Regions from separate parts of the Homo sapiens genome. Here all the other regions are linked to region 4. The links are contacts of gene promoters, found by promoter capture Hi-C in blood cells and fetal thymus (Javierre and others, 2016). All regions are on one chromosome and are shown on one strand. The core of a region is centred on a gene start or on the middle of the fragment in contact, and the rest is flanking DNA. Distances in the headings are between cores, read along the strand shown. Region 1 holds the start of LTO1 (LTO1 maturation factor of ABCE1). Region 2 holds the start of PPFIA1 (PPFI scaffold protein A1). Region 3 overlaps CTTN (cortactin). Region 4 holds the start of DHCR7 (7-dehydrocholesterol reductase).

Region 1 (3,713 bases), core at 507-3,006, 1.8 Mb before region 4:
CAAGGAAAATTCAAAGATATTAACTCAAAAGCCTCACCCCCAGAGATTCAGTACGTCTGGAGCAAGGCCCTGGAATCTACTTTTCTTTCTTCCTTTTTTTTTTTTTTTTTTTTGAGACAGGGTCTCTGTTGCCCTGCCTGGAGTGCAGTGGTATGATCACAGCTCACTATAGCCTCAAACTCCTGGGCTCAAGCGATCCTCCAGCTTTGGCCGCTCCAAGTGTTGGGATTACAAGTGAGGGCCACCGCACCTGGCCTGCAATCCACTTTTCTTTTCTTGAGATGGAGTCTCGCTTTGTCGCCCAGGCTGGAGTGCAGTGGTGCGATCTCGGCTCACTGCAAGCTCTGCTTCCCGGGTTCACGCTCTCCTGCCTCAGCCTCCCAAGTAGCTGAGACTACAGGCGCCCACCACCACATCCGGCTAATTTTTTGTATTTTTAGTAGAGACGGGGTTTCACCATGTTAGCTAGGATGGTCTGGATCTCCTGACCTCGTGATCCGCCCGCCTCGGCCTCCCAAAGTGCTGGGATTACAGGCGTCAGCCACCGCATCTGGCCCGGAATCTACTTTTCAAAGTCTCCTAGATAAGTCTGGTTTGCAGCCAGAGTTAGGGGGCCAAAGTTCTGTGAGTGTTCAAGTAGCACTAGCCCAAGTCAACCGCTTCCAAAAAACTGCAACATACACAGGGTTTGACATCACATGGGTAGGGCAACAGAGAGAAATGGCATCAGATCACCACAAAATGTTCTCCGACTGGTACCCGGAGTAGCACTGACCCTGAGGCCCAACAGTGGAACTGCCACTATCTTAACCTGCAGTCACCAAACATGCAAGGAGTGGGCTGCAGCGCCCCATGAAGCAGGGTGCATAGCTCCCCACTTAATAGTTGTGTGACCCTGGAAAGTGACTGTGCCTCCTAGTCTGTAAATTCCGAAGAATAATAGGATCCACTTACTAAGTAGGGCTGAAGTAGATAACCAGGGTGGAACGTTTAGCTCAGTGTCTGACTCACAGCGCGAGCTAAATAAACGTCAGCGCCTGACTGCTAAATGTTCGGCCGCTTTCTTAACTAACATCTATGGACGCGTCCTCTGGGCCGGGCACTGGAAGTCAGCCAGGAGGCAACTCACAGCTCCCCCACTGTCGCAGCACGAGGGGCTCCCCAGGGGCTCTGGAGGGAAAAGGGGTGTGGTCGGGTACATCTATCAGCACATCCATGAATACTGCCGTATGTCCTATGATTAAGGAACCAGAAAAAAAGGCAGCTCCCAGATGGCAAAGGTCTGTCCTCCCAGAGGACGAGGCGGCCTCGGAGGAGGGGAACCACCAGGCTGAGCAGATGTTTGGGGCAGCCCTGACAGGGAAGGCGGGTCTGGAAGAGCAGCTGGGCACGTGCCCCGCCGGAGCGGGCCAGGAGAAGAGGACCAGAGCATCAGGCCCACACTTGTCCCTGCGTCCACGGCCACCAGGCGCTCCCCAATGCGCACGCCCAAGGGACGCCAGGCTCCAGCAGCCGCCCTGGGCCGCAGCCGGCGGCGAAGCCGCTGGGAGACGACCAGACAGGGCGGGGTGCGGGCCCGGCCTCACCACCCACCTCTCATCCGCCATCACGATGGCATCGAATATGTCCTGACTGCCAGCCATAGCGGCAAGCAGCCCGCCCTTGGCCCCCGGGTTTCTGCAGCCCCGCGGTGCCGTAGCAGACCCGGCAGCTTCAGGCACAAATGCTCCGCTTGGGAGGAGACGAGACCCACTTCCGGAAGCGGCGGCGCGGGGCAGGCCGGGTAAGAACGGCACGCGGGAGGGCCCAAAGCAGCCTGTACATGGCGCATGCGCGGCTGCAGCGGTGGGCGGGGCCGGCCTCGACTGAAGCCCCGCCCTGGGGTCCTTTCGCCCTGCCCAGCTCCAGCAAAGGGCCTGTCTGTCCGCGCTGGGAGCGTCCATTGGCCGCGCGCGTGGAGAGCCGACCTGTATTTTACCACTGCAGATAGAACCGAATTTCCCAAAGTGGCTCCGAAAGAACCAAGGAAGAAATGGGAAGTCATCAGCTGGCGCGGTGGCTCACGCCTGTCATCCCAGCACTTTGGGAGGCCGAGGCGCGCGGATCACCTGAGTTCGGGAGTTCGAGACCAGCCTGGCCAACATGGTGAAACCTCGTCTTTACTGAAAATACAAAAATTAGCCGGGCATGGTGGCAGGCGCCTGTAATCCCAGCTACTCGGGAGGCTGAGGCAGGAGAATCACTGGAAGCTGGGAGGCGGAGGTTGCAGTGAGCCGAGATCGCACCACTGCACTCCAGACTGGCGACAGAGCCAGACTCCGTCAAAAAAAAAAAAAAAAAGGGAAAAGAAATGGGAAGTCATCAAAGAACCGACGCCTCAGGAGGCTCCAGGCCAGGAGGCTCTGCATGTGGGATTTTGGGCAGAAATTTGTCGGTTTTAGTTCTCATATTTGTCATTTCCATGAGATGTGCTTTCTGAACACGATTTTTAAAAAGGGATTTCAAAGTCTAAGCGACAACGGAACTCAGATGAGAAACACCAGAAGCATTCCTAATAAAGTCAGTAGTAAAACCTCACGTGACCACTGAACATCTTTCTACCAGCCCTGGCCAATGCAGTAAAACATGAAGCAAGAAGTGGAAATACCAAAAAAAAAAAAAAAAAAAAAAAAAGGCAGAAATACTACTATTTGCAGATATGATGGCCCACGTGGAAAACCCAAATAGTCACCTAAGACGTTCTCAGAATCCATAATCGCAGCAAGTAGCTATGTGTATGATGAATAGGGAAAAAAACACTTTCTGTTATTCCAACAATAATTGGTAGTAACCTGAGCAGGGGTGGTGATGGGAAAATCGCCTTATGATAGTCATAATACATTTCTTAGAAATAAGAATTTCTAACAATTTGAGCAGGACCCATATAAGGAAAACTACAGCTCTACCATGATTGAGGATTGGGGAACTGAACAAGTGCAGTACCAAAGAAAATTCCATGAGATCTGGTAAAATGTGTCAAAATCCTAAACTTTTTCATCCGTATGAATAAACTAATAAAAATAACTAAGATGTTTTAGAAAAAAATGATTTTCATATCAGATATGAAAAGATAAAGTGTCAATATAAATATTGTGGTATGTTGGTTCAAGAAGTGGCAGACCAGTGAAATAAAGTAAATGGCCCAGACAATGGACTCTCATAGATGTAAAGCCTTCTCATGTGGTAAAAAGAAGAATTACAAATTAATTGGAGAAAGGAAATATTAACTAATAACTATAATGGAAAATTGGTTGTTTGGGAAAAGCTTGGTTCCATTTATGCCTCACACCATTCATCAAAATAATTCCAGATGAGTTAAAGAGTTAACTTAAAAAAATTAAGCACATTGGCTGGGCACGGTGGCTCACGCCTGTAATCCCAGCACTTTGGGAGGCCCAGGCAGGTGGATAACCAGAGTTAGGGAGTTCGAGACCAGCCTGACCAACATGGAGAAACCCCGTCTGTACTAAAACTACAAAATTAGCCTGGCGTGGTGGTGCATGCCTGTAAGCCCAGCTACTCGGGAGGCTGAGGCAGGAGAACCCAGGAGACAGAGGTTGCAGTGAGCCGAGATCACACCATTGCACCCCAGCCTGGGCAACAAGAGCAAAACTCCATCTCTAAATAAATAAATGAATAAAGCACATTTTGCCTGTAATCCCAGCACTTTGGGA
Region 2 (3,924 bases), core at 1,425-3,924, 1.2 Mb before region 4:
TGATCTTGAGCCGATTTTTCTTTTTTTTTTTTTTTTTGAGATGGAGTCTCGCTTTGTTGCCCAGGCTGGAGTGCAGTGGCGCGATCTCGGCTCGCTGCAAGCTCCGTCTCCCGGGTTCACGCCATTCTCCTGCCTCAGCCTCCCGAGTAGCTGGGACTACAGGCGCCTGCCACCACGCCCGGCTAATTTTTTGTATTTTTAGTAGAGACAGGGTTTCACTGTGTTAGCCAGGATGGTCTCGATCTCCTGAACTCGTGATCCGCCTACCTCGGCCTCCCAGAGTGCTGGGATTACAGGCGTGAGCCACTGCGCCCGGCCTTGAGCCGATTTCTTAGAAAACAGACACTTTATGAGCATGGTGCAAACATAAGCTGGCTGCATTAAGCAGGTACCCCTAAGGAGAGCTGGAAATTTGCTGGTTTCAGACAGTGGTTCAGGGGAACTTGGGAGTTGTGCAGAATTGCTGGGGTGTGGAGAGGTACAGGGTACTTGCAGAACACCTCATCTAAGCGATCAACTTTACAATTTTATTATTTTTGAGACAGAGTCTCGCTTTGGCACCCAGGCTGGAATGCAGTGGCACAATCACAGCTCACTGCAGCCTCGACCTCTCAGGCTCAAGCGATCCTCCCACCTCAATCCCCCAAGTACCTGGGACTACAGGTGTGGCCCACCTTGCTGGACTAATTTTTAATTTTTTGTATAGACATGGGTCTCGATATATTGCCCAGGCTCAAGCAATCCTCCCACGTTGGCCCCCCAGCGTGCTGGGATTACAGACGTGAGCCACTGCACCTGGCCAATGTTTTTTTTTTTTTTTTTTTTCTGAGACAGAGCCTCGCTTTGTCTCCCAGCCTGGAGCGCAGTGGCATGATCTCCTCATTGCAACCTCCACCTCCCAGGTTCAAGCTATTCTTCCACCTCAGCCTCCTGAGTAGCTGGGATTACAGATGCCCGCCACCACACCCGGCTAATTTTTGTATTTTTAGTAGGGATAGGGTTTCACCATGTTGGCCAGGCTGGTTTTGAACTCCTGACCTCAAGTGATCTGCCCACCTGGGTCTCCCAAAGTGCTGGGATTACAGGCTTGAGCCACCGCACCCGGCCTCACCTGGCCATTTTTACACTTTTAAAATAGCAAGAAACTAGGGGCAAAAAGTACATATTCATATCTATGTGTAGTCAGTCAATAAATATTTATTGAATGAACGAATAAATTAATGGAAGGTGTTCCAGATCCTGGTAGGCGAGAGTCAGTCGGAGGGAGTGCTTGTTCTTGGTGCACTCACAATGGAGAATCAAGGAATTCACCTTGGACGGGCTCATTTCTCCCTCTCCTAGGCCCCGTGCAGCCTCTTCTCAGACTTACTAGTTCTGAGGGGCTCCTGGCTGCCTCACACCAACAGCAGTGGCCAGTGGACACTGGCGATGGTGTCCTGACATTTTGGTTTGTGAAGAGTTTGTGCTCCGAGTCAAATCCTGGGAGGAGTGGGGAGGGCATCCGCTTTAATTAATTAGAGGTGTCTCTATTCATCTCCGTATCTGCAACATCTAGCACAAGACTTGGCCCATAGTAGATGTTTAAAAATTCTTGCTGAGGCCGGGCGCAGTGGCTCACGCCTGTAATCCCAACACTTTGGGAGGCTGAGGCGGGCAGACCACCTGAGGTCAGGAGTTCGAGACCAGCTCGACCAACATGTAGAAATCCCGTCTCTACTAAAAATACAAAATTATCTGGACTTGGTGGCGTGCGCCTGTAATCCCAGCTACACGGGAGGTTGAGGCAGGAGAATCACTTGAACCCGGGAGGCAGAGGTTGCAGTGAGCCGAGATGGCGCCATTGCACTCCAGCCTGGGTGACAAGAGTGAAACAACGTCTGGAAAAAAAAAAAAACTTGCGGAAAAGATGAAATGACCAAGACTCGCGCAGTGCTGCCCGTCAGGCTCTCAACTAGTCGCTCTTCACATCTGATTCATGTCTTAAAGCAGCCTCGCAGGTAGGTCTGCATCATTTTCCCATCCTACATCGGAGGCGCTGAAGCCCAGGCGGGTTTCCCGAGTCGCCCGGGCCCACGCTGCAGAGTGAAAGCCACAGCGGCAAAGCCTGCACTCTGGACGCTGCGCCGGGACGTCCCCAGGTGCGGCAGGCAGCGCTCCGTAAGTGGGTCCTGGCGGGAACTCCGTCCTTCTGAACCCAGATCAGGCCCAGGGAGACCGTAGGGGCGCCGCGGCGGGCGGGGTCTGGGTCCTCGGTGGTGACTGAAGCCTCGGTTCGCTCTTCTGCAAGGTGCGAATCCAGAGCCTCCAGCTCGGGAGGGACCTGACGTGCCGGACGCGTCCAGCTCAGAACTCGAGGCGCGGTAGACACTCAGCAAAGGCCTCCGGCGTCCCTGCAGCCGTGGGGGGAAACTGGGGACGCCCGGAGGAAGACGCTGACCCGGCGAGCACCTGAGCGCCCACCTGTGGCTCATCCCGGAGACCGCCCCCTCCCCCGCGACCCGGGCGGGGCCTGGGGGGCGTGGCTCCCGTCTCGCTCAGCCAATCAGTGCCCCGGGGCCGCCTCCCGCCCCCTCCTGAGGAGACAGCGCTTGCGTACTCGGGCCAAGGTGCTCCTCGGGCCCCGCCCCCGGGGCGGTGCTGACGCTCGCGCCGACGCGCTCGACGTCGGGCACGTAGACGCCGGCGCCGCGCAGCCGGGCCCGCTCCTCCTCCGCTCCGCCAGTGTCCGGCCGCGGGCCGGCCTTAGTGACTGGGGCGGCGGGCCCCGGGGCCGCGGCGTGGGGCGGGCAGGCGGACGCCGGCCGCGGGCTGCTTTCGTCGGCTCCCAAGCTCTCCCGGAGCGAGCAGCCGCCCGCGAGCCGCCGCGGAGCCTCCTCGCCCGCTCCCGCCGGCGAGCAAGGTAAGGGAGCGGGACACTGAGGCAGGCTCGGGGCCCAGGCGTCACCGGCGCGTCCCGGTCTCCGCGGCGGCCACGCAGCCGATTAGATGTCTCCGCGGGGAAGGGTGCGCTCCGGGACGGGTGGGGGCGAGGCCGCGGCGCCGGGTCGCGCTGGGAGAGCTCCGGCGGGACACCCGCGCCCCAAGGGACGGCTCCGGGGACTGCGCGCTGCCCCTCCCCGAGCCCCGCGCCCCGTGACCCGGGCGCTGGGGCGAGGGGCGGGGACCTGTGGCCGCTGAAAGCCCTGGCCCGAGCGGGCTCCGTTGTCAACGGTCCTCACCCCCCGGGGTTCGGGGCTTCCGCCGCACCTGATACAGGAGGGGAGGAGTGCGGCTCGAGCAGGCTGGAGGTCACCATCCCCATCAGGTGCGCCGTCTGGGGCATCCCCCTCTCAGGGGTCCACCGCGCCCCCAGTACTGCCCGAAAGGCTCAGAAGCGACTTCCCCTTTCCCTGGCGCTGTCTTTATATCCCAGACACTTAATAGACTCTCGTAATCTCACCTTTCACTTTTCCCTCTTTCCTAGCCGCCCCCGGCTGTATCGACCTGCTATATTTCCATTGTGGATTTTTTTTTTCGGTTGTAAACTTACGTAAGTTAGGTTGACCAACCGTTGCAGCCATTGGAAAACACTTCTACCAGCGTTTAACGAATCCGGTTCCTTTTAGTGCTCACCAAATCCAGCCCAAGAATTCAGGGAGCCGTCAGTTCTTCCCGGGAGCTGACTGCACACATTCCTGCAAGATGCCTGATGGATTTTGTACTTGTCAGTTTTGCTGGTTGTATGCTCCTTCTGTGCTTTTCCTGAAAAATGATTGGGTGACATGTGTTTTGACTTTCTCCCCCCCTACCCCCCCACCCTCCCCACCCCACTGGGAAGTAAAAAAAATAGGTAACAGAAGCACACTTGTTTTCAGCAAAAACAAGTACAGCTTTGCAAACAGACTACCCCAGGGCTTGCCCTTTTTTGTGAGGGTAGTCCTTTGG
Region 3 (3,895 bases), core at 195-2,694, 1.0 Mb before region 4:
GAATTCGTTGAGTCATCATACCTCTTCTCATCTCTTCTGTTCCCTGTGGCTTCAAAACATGTCTCGGAGGGTGGCTTGGAGAAAAAACAACTCTCCAGTACAAAACCCTTGGGCTGGTTAGGATTCAGAGAGGAACACATGGGGAATAAGCCCATTCTTCATGCTCTGGGGCCTTCCCAGGTTTTAGGAGTGGTGTCTTTCTTTCTCCTGCTCATAAGGGTATTGGGCGGTTTCCAAGCCTGGTTTGTATTTCATCTTCAATTCTAGGATTGTCGTCCAGATGTCAAAGGTGGCGTCCTGGTGTCTCCTGGGCAGAAAGTCCGAATGCCAAAGTGGCCTTCTTATCACTCTGGGGTCTCTCAATGACAGCTGTGTCTGGCCTACCAGATTTGAGCAAACCTTGTCATCTGTTTCATTATCTGCTGTATTAAAATTTTTTAATGGCATTTAGATGTTAAATTCTGAAACGCTTTCCTCTCATCTTTGAATGTATAAAAAAGCTGGAGTACTTCAAGTACAGACGAATCATCTGAATGTTCAGCACCACTGGACTTCTGCCAGTGGCCGAGGAAGGGACCATAGCCTCGTGTTTCCCCCTCTACCTCTGGATGATTACAGACTAGCTTTCCTATTTTCTGCGTGTGAAATAAAGGTCAGGCTTCAGTAGAGCCATCTTTAGCGGGGATTTGGGATGATCCCAGTGTCTGCCTTCAGATTCGTGTTCTGTCTCCCACAGAGCATGCGTCTGATACTGCAGACTGCCGAAGTGGGTGTACCAGCCGGCAGAATAGTCAGGAAGGCACAGTGCAGGGAGAGAATCGGTGAACATCAGATAAGCAGATTTACAAATTTACAAAGATAATGTCACCTGTTCTTATTTATCATACCAGGAGGCAAAGCTGCACGTCTGTTTTATTGATCTGTTCCTATTTTCATCTCTTCCATCAAGCATACACAAGCTGAGGGAGAATGTCTTTCAAGAGCATCAGACCCTTAAGGAGAAGGAACTTGAAACAGGACCAAAAGCTTCCCATGGCTATGGAGGGAAATTTGGTGTGGAACAAGACCGAATGGATAAGGTAAGTGGCCCGCGGCTGCCTATGCCAGGCTCCTGGTGTGCTTGGACCACTAGACTGGGTGGCAGAGTCGTCCCTCAGTCTTTCCTTAGATCAGCAGTTTTGAGTCCATCTGCTGAGGTTGCGATTTGCCCGGAGTAGACCCCTGTTGATTGGACTTACTCATGAAGTACTCTAGCTTTCTTCAAAGCTCTTTAGGAATCCTCAGAGGTGCTGGAGCACGGGTGTTAGTGGGGAGGCCCAGAGAGGGAGATTGGCCCTCAGAGGCAGCCTTGTGATAGGACAGAAGTCCAGAAGCATCCTGGCTCTAGGTGTCATCACTGTCAATGCCTGTGGTTCCAGTCTGTAGCCTAAGTCATGCCAGTCCGAAGACCAAAGTCAAATCTGTAGGTCCCCATGGTTCACAGCACACACGGAATCCAGCCAAAGGCCTGGCTAACATCCTTCATGCGTTCAGTGACCATCAGAGCAGTCTCCCTCGTGTAAATTCGGCGCGTACCAGGCTGGGGACAGTGCTCACTCTATTCGAGAGGTCTGGGCAAGCCTCCCAGCAGCTGTCATTGATGGGATGCAGACTGCCACGCAGACGTTGATTGAGGACGTTGGCCAAATGCATCCGGCTGCACCCGTGCTTTAGGTCCTCTCTACCTTAAGAAAGGGAGCCACGTTAGCTCAGGAGGGCTACCTTTTCCTTCCTGGAGAGAAGATGGAAGAGATCGCAGTGTGTTTGCATGTTTCTTCAGTAAAACAGACATCCTGGAGGTGAACTTTTGAGTCTGAGCAACATAAGCTTGTTCTGACCTGACAGATGCTTGCCTTTACTCTGTGGAAAGAAGTGTGTTAGCCAGTGTCGGATTCCAGCCGGTAATTCCATACCCCTCTCCCACCTCATGCACCAGCCAGATGAACATTTGAGCTGGGCACGGGATGATGTTGCCGTGTCACAGTGAGCTGCACCTTGCTCTGTCCCCCGCAGAGTAGATGATGTGGTGGGCCGGCAGGGCACCCCAAACCACGACCATAAATAGCCTGGGGGAGGAGTGGGGTGAGGGACCTTCTGCAGGAAAGAGACATGGATGTTGCTGCGTCACTACCACAGAGATGCCCTGACACCGAGAAGAGCAATGTGTGCAGAATCATCATCTTTGGAGTCTAAAAAAAGTCTGGTAGCTTTTAGGAGTGTAAACAGGCAGACGGACCCCTGAGTTCAGTGCAGCGAGCGAAGCAAGTGCACACGGACAGACGGAATCCATGTGTTCAGTGCAGCGAGCGAAGCGTGTGCACACGGACAGACGGAATCCATGTGTTCAGTGCAGCGAGCGAAGCGTGTGCACACGGACAGACGGAATCCATGTGTTCAGTGCAGCGAGCGAAGCGTGTGCACACGGACAGACGGAATCCATGTGTTCAGTGCAGCGAGCGAAGCGTGTGCACACGGACAGACGGAATCCGTGTTCAGTGCAGCGAGCGAAGCGTGTGCACACGGACAGACGGAATCCATGTGTTCAGTGCAGTGAACGAAGCAAGTAGATAGGAGCCTTTCCCACTGCAGACTGAGGCGAGCCCTGTGCTTAGGGGGCTTGTGGGGAGTTAGCGCAGAGAGACATTTATTCTAAAAATGGGGCTCCCTGCTGTGGGTTGGGAAAATTACATATTGGGGAAAAGAAAGGCAACGTGTCAGGAGAGCCTGGTAGGGAAGCTGCTGTGGCTTCTCTGCTGCTGCTCGGCCTGCACCTTTTTTCAGCGCGAATCTCGCTCACCCTAGAACCTGCAGCTCAGGCCTTCCCGAGTGCCAGGAGCTCCCTGGAAGAGCCCTCACTTCCCTCTCTCCTGTGCGGTCTCCACAGCAGCCTCTGCTTCCCTCATGAGCTGTCCTTGCCTCATCCTGCTGTCCTTCCCAGGGAGACTCCCCTCCGGGCTGGGCTTTTCAAGGGTCGGGACTTGTCATCCTCACCTTGTGCCTGGCTCAGTGCCACGTGCCCCCCCCTTAGGCCAGTGCTCTCATGGAACCAAGGAGGCTTATGGAGCCTTGCTCTCACCTCTCAGCCGGCAAGTTGGAGAGCTGTCCTAGCAGGGCGAGTCCAGCAAGGGATGCTGCTGCTGCTCAGTCCCAGCTGGCATCGGGGCCAGGTTAGCGCTCAGCTCAGGTCAGCACCATGGGACAGATACGTTGTCAAAAATAACTCAGGGCCAGGTACGGGACTGGCACCTGTAATCCCAGCATTTTGGAAGGCCGAGGCAGGATGATCTTATCAGCCCAGGAGTTTGAGACCAGCCTGGGCAACATAGCAAGACCCTATCTCTACAAAAACATAATTAACTGGGCATGGTGGTGCACACCTGTAGTCCCAGCTGCTTGGGAGGCTAAGCTGGGAGGATCACCTGAACCTGGGAGGTGGAGACTGCAGTGTCCTGTGATCGCACCATTACAGTCCAGCCTGGGCGACAGAGAGAGACGCTGTCTCAGGAAATAAATAGATTAAACTCAGATTCCAAACCGAAGGGGAAACGGCTTAAGTTATTTGTAACTTGCCCACTCCAGAAACTAAAAAAAAAATAAAAAATTGAAATCTCTGCGTTAAGACTTGAGGAATATGTGCTAGAGACTTCCAGAACAAAAGAAGACATTGAGGACAAGCACACGCGAGAGGAGCCTGGACGGGCTGTCAGGATTCTGTTTATGCTGGGGCCTGAGCACACTGCACCTTTCCCTTGCGGCCAGCGGTGGCTGCATCCATCACGCGGGGCAGGCTTCCTTCTTGATCCCTTGTCTCCTTGCATCCCGTAGCCCTGAGTCTACATATTCAGGCTTCAAGATA
Region 4 (3,739 bases), core at 1,068-3,567:
ATGCAGCAGGACTAACCAGAAACCAGTCCACATTGGTACAAGATGAATGGCTAGGAAAGAGAGGAAATGAAAATGATGAATTTTGTTGCATCTGAATGTGTAGGAAAATTATTGATATATGTGACAGCTCGGTTAGAGCATCCAGAAAAAAATGAATGAGAGATGCATAGAAACCTTACCAAATGAAAAAAAAAAAAAAAAAAAAAGGAAGGCAACTGTTAACTCCAGGAAAAATAAAAAGTCATATAAGGAAGGAAAAAAAGAAACCAAGCCATTATTATAGGACCTTACTTGGCTCAACAGTGAATAATGGTAATTTTGTCATAACAATGTATACTCTGACTATTTATTGACTATTGTATGCACAGAAGGGAATTTGCAAAGTTAGGGGTACTAAAAGGAAATTACTTAGAAACAAGTAGGTACAAACAACAACACAAAAGTAGCTGAAAGAATGAAAAGTGTTTGCTGCTGGCAAGCAAGACTGTCGGATGTGGGATGTGGTAGAGAGTATTTCTTCTGAAGCCTTTTAACACTGATTTTTAAAAAAATGTGTGCATGAATTACTTTAATAAAAATTCACACACATTTAAAAAATTTCAACGATGAAAGACATTTTCCTTATGCAGTGTGAGAACTTCAGTACCCGCACTTCATTCAATTTACACAAGTTAGTTTATGCAGTTCCTATGATGCACAAAACAAGACGAAGAGTTCTTGATAGGAAGAGACCGTGTCTCTCTCCGGCCCCAAATACTGAATACAGAGCCTGGCGAGTGCCAGTCACTCTCCTTATATCTGTAAAATCAAAGTGGATGAAAGAAAACTACTTCTGAGAAAAGCTGACACGCTAGTGAGTCTGATCTCAAGATCACAGCCACCTGGACAAGCTGGCTTGCTTTAGACAGTTCCTCTCCCCCAGGCTCTCATCAAGGTAAGATACAAGCTTAGTTTCTTCCCAGCCAAAACTTACCAGCTCAGTGCCCCCACTCCCTCCGATCCCTAGTTCCCACACTGACTGGTGTTAATCCAGACCACCCACATGCACACTTGCCTTACAGGAAGGCTAAGTAGAATGGGGTGGCATTCGTCTTGCCCCAAGCCATGGATAAGCTACAAGGGGACAATGCCTGGTACCAACATTATCAATTATGTAAAACACTGGGAAATTGCAAAAGGGTCAGGGGATGTGTAACCTCAGAACTAAAGTGTGAAAAAGCCACTGGGAGAATGTTGTCAAAAGGGATTAAAACAAGACCAAAGAAGTACTTTTAGCTTATTACAGAGTTCATTCACCCAGGAGTCAGCTCTTTAGCCACAAGCATTGAGTTGTGCAATAAACATCTAAGTAACATCCTTCCCAATAGACGGCTGGGAACAGACAAAGGGGAGGTGCCCTGGTATGTTGTATTTTACTCATAAGAGGCACAGACAGTCGTTGGCACTCGAGAGCTGGTGGACCAGTCTGTCTGTACTTTCAACGCTGTGAAGCCATAGCCTGCGCCCACGATCCAGGGCACTGAGATACACTTACCTCCAGCCTCTTGCCAAATAGTTTCACAGCAGAAGGGAACTTTTCCTTCTTGAACCGGCCCCTTAAAAGTTTCTAGACACCTGTGCTCCAAATGCCTGCTTGATCCTTCTCAACCGGCTAAAGTCCTGCAAGGAACACAAAAATGAATAAGACCGCAGGCAGCTGACATTTCAGGAGAGGGCAGAAGCTCAAGGCCCACAGTAGGAGTCAAGCAAGAGGCAGAAGGTCCAGTGCTCAGGGCTTCAACAGCCGCATGTCAGGGAGGACGGCGGACAAGCCAGTCCCATCGCAAAGCTGCTGTGCCTGGCTCAGCACTGACAAAGAGGGAGGCGAACAACAGGTGGGGCAGGAGAAAGAGCCGCCGCGGAGCGCGGCATGGGGCCAGGAGCCGACCCCGGAGCCAGGCAGCCTTCGCCCGGGGAAGCTCCAGACAGCGCGGGGACAGAGCATCCCTCAGACGCCGGCTCGTGGGGGAGGGGGACTATCCACGCCTCCGCCCCGCCTCCCCGGAGCCCCAGCGGCCCCTCGCCTGTGAGCTGGACCCTCTCCCCACCTGCGCGCACGCCCCCTACCCCTGACCCCACCCTCGCCCTGTGAGTGGGCACCTGCTCACCTGGGCAAGCGCCCCCCACTGCGCACACCTTCCCCTGGCCTCACCTGCGCACACCTTGGCCACTCACCTGCGCACACCTCGGCCCCTCACCTGCGCCCACCTTCCCCTGGCCTCGCTTGCGCGCGCTGCTCCACGCCGCCTACCCTCTAGCCAGGGGTCGGAGTCACCCGCAGGGCAGGGGCGCCCGCCCCCGGATGATGTCAGCGATTGCCTGCCAATCGGAGGCGGACCCTGCACGCCCGGCGGCTCCGCGCCCCGTGATTGGTCGAGGAGCCTGAGCTGACTCCGGGCCCACCGCGCCCGCCATTCGGCAGCGGCCGGACTCGAGATTGACGGCCCAGGCCCCGCCCTGCCGCCCCACCGGCCCGCCCGGGCCCTAGTGGGTGGGCGCAGCCTCTGGCGCTTCTTCGGGATCCCAGCTGACCAGCTGGGGGTGGGGCGTGGCGGAGTGGCCACGTGGGCCGCGCGGAGAACGCGCCAGGCTCATCACCTGGATCATCGTGCCTCAGTTTCCCCCTCGGCAAATGGGGCTTCAGCGGCTCGCGACGCACATTGATGGAGCGTATGTCCAGGCGCCGGTGCACCGCAAGGAGCAAAACAGACACAGTTCTTGGTCCTAGGGCTCACGTCCCGGGGCGAAGAGGATCCTCCATAAACGATCAGGTAAACACATGGGTGTCAGGGAAGGCTCGCCGCTGGGAGACCGCCAAAGTGACCCGAGATGGAGTCTGGGTGGCCTGCTTATTAGGGGGGCACACCTGTGCGAGGACGGGAGGGGAGGGAGCAGCAGGACTGGGCAAAGGGAGAAGCTGAGCCACAGTGCGAGCCGGACGCACGGGCCACGTTGCGAGGGCATGACCTGGGGCGAGGCAGCCCTGGAGGAGGGGGCAGCTGAAGGTGTCTGCTGACCCCACACCCAACAGCTCGGGTAACAGGCCTTACTGTCAGAGCGATCTGGTTGCCACGTCTCTGTGGCCCTCAGAGAGACATCATGTTTTCTTTTTTCCCTGCACCTTTTTGTTTTGAAAAATGTTCAGCATACAAACAAGTTGAACGTAAAGTGAGCACGCAGATTCCTAGGTTCAGCAGGGGTGAGCAGCTGGCCACGTTTCATTTCTCTCCCTCTGTGTTTATATATGTGTATTTTTCTTTTTTCCTCCCCACTCAGCCCCCACCATTAGCTGCAGATACCGTGATACCCCCCTCCCAAATACTTCGGTATCCAACTCCTTAAGAACAAGAACCTCCTATATTACCAAAATACAATGACCACATCAGTTCAATGCTGTTATCTATTTTCCATCTCCAGTTTCCCGCGGTTGTCCCAATAATGCCCTTTACAGCCCTTTTGTTATTGTTGTTTTGTTTTGCTTTGTTAAGACGGGGGTCTCTGTCACACAGGCTGGAGTGTAGTGGCACGATCACAGCTCACTGCAGCCTTGAACTGCTGGGCTCAAGCGATTCTCTTCCCTCACCCTCCTGAGTAGCTGGGACTACAAGAGCACACCACCACACGCTATTTTTTTTTTGGTAGAGATGGGTGGGGGGGGGGGTCTCACTATGTTCCCCAAGCTGGTCTCGAACTCCTGGGC

The links. Contacts are between HindIII fragments. The CHiCAGO score rates a contact against its expected background, and 5 or more counts as called.
Region 1: a contact is called between the fragment with the promoter of LTO1 here and the fragment with the promoter of DHCR7 in region 4, in 1 of 17 cell types (total CD8 T cells). The highest score is 7.0, in total CD8 T cells.
Region 2: the fragment with the promoter of PPFIA1 here is called in contact with the fragment with the promoter of DHCR7 in region 4 in 1 of 17 cell types (neutrophils); the score reaches 5.3 in neutrophils.
Region 3: a contact is called between a fragment that was not itself captured here and the fragment with the promoter of DHCR7 in region 4, in 1 of 17 cell types (endothelial precursors). The highest score is 7.2, in endothelial precursors.

The regions. Positions count from the first base shown.
Region 1 is chr11:69,673,597-69,677,309 of GRCh38, forward strand. It overlaps LTO1 (LTO1 maturation factor of ABCE1), which reads right to left and starts at 1,757. Exons shown (of 5, transcript NM_153451.3): 1 at 1,594-1,757. The coding sequence starts at 1,643. RefSeq lists a silencer at 1,339-1,428 and enhancers at 1,549-2,049, 1,919-2,118. The HindIII fragment of the contact is 5,284 bases long and covers 1-3,302 here.
Region 2 is chr11:70,268,016-70,271,939 of GRCh38, forward strand. PPFIA1 (PPFI scaffold protein A1) reads left to right here and starts at 2,675. Exons shown (of 28, transcript NM_003626.5): 1 at 2,675-2,899. RefSeq lists silencers at 2,260-2,809, 2,850-3,279. The HindIII fragment of the contact is 13,908 bases long and covers 1-3,924 here.
Region 3 is chr11:70,408,882-70,412,776 of GRCh38, forward strand. It overlaps CTTN (cortactin), which reads left to right. Exons shown (of 18, transcript NM_005231.4): 5 at 950-1,079. Among named protein-coding and RNA genes, the nearest start is that of CTTN, 12 kb to the left of the region's middle. The HindIII fragment of the contact is 840 bases long and covers 1,025-1,864 here.
Region 4 is chr11:71,446,076-71,449,814 of GRCh38, forward strand. It overlaps DHCR7 (7-dehydrocholesterol reductase), which reads right to left and starts at 2,318. Exons shown (of 9, transcript NM_001360.3): 1 at 2,215-2,318; 2 at 1,535-1,659. It overlaps DHCR7-DT (DHCR7 divergent transcript), which reads left to right and starts at 2,453. Exons shown (of 2, transcript NR_186309.1): 1 at 2,453-2,810. RefSeq lists a silencer at 1,985-2,624 and an enhancer at 2,350-2,851. The HindIII fragment of the contact is 9,377 bases long and covers 945-3,739 here.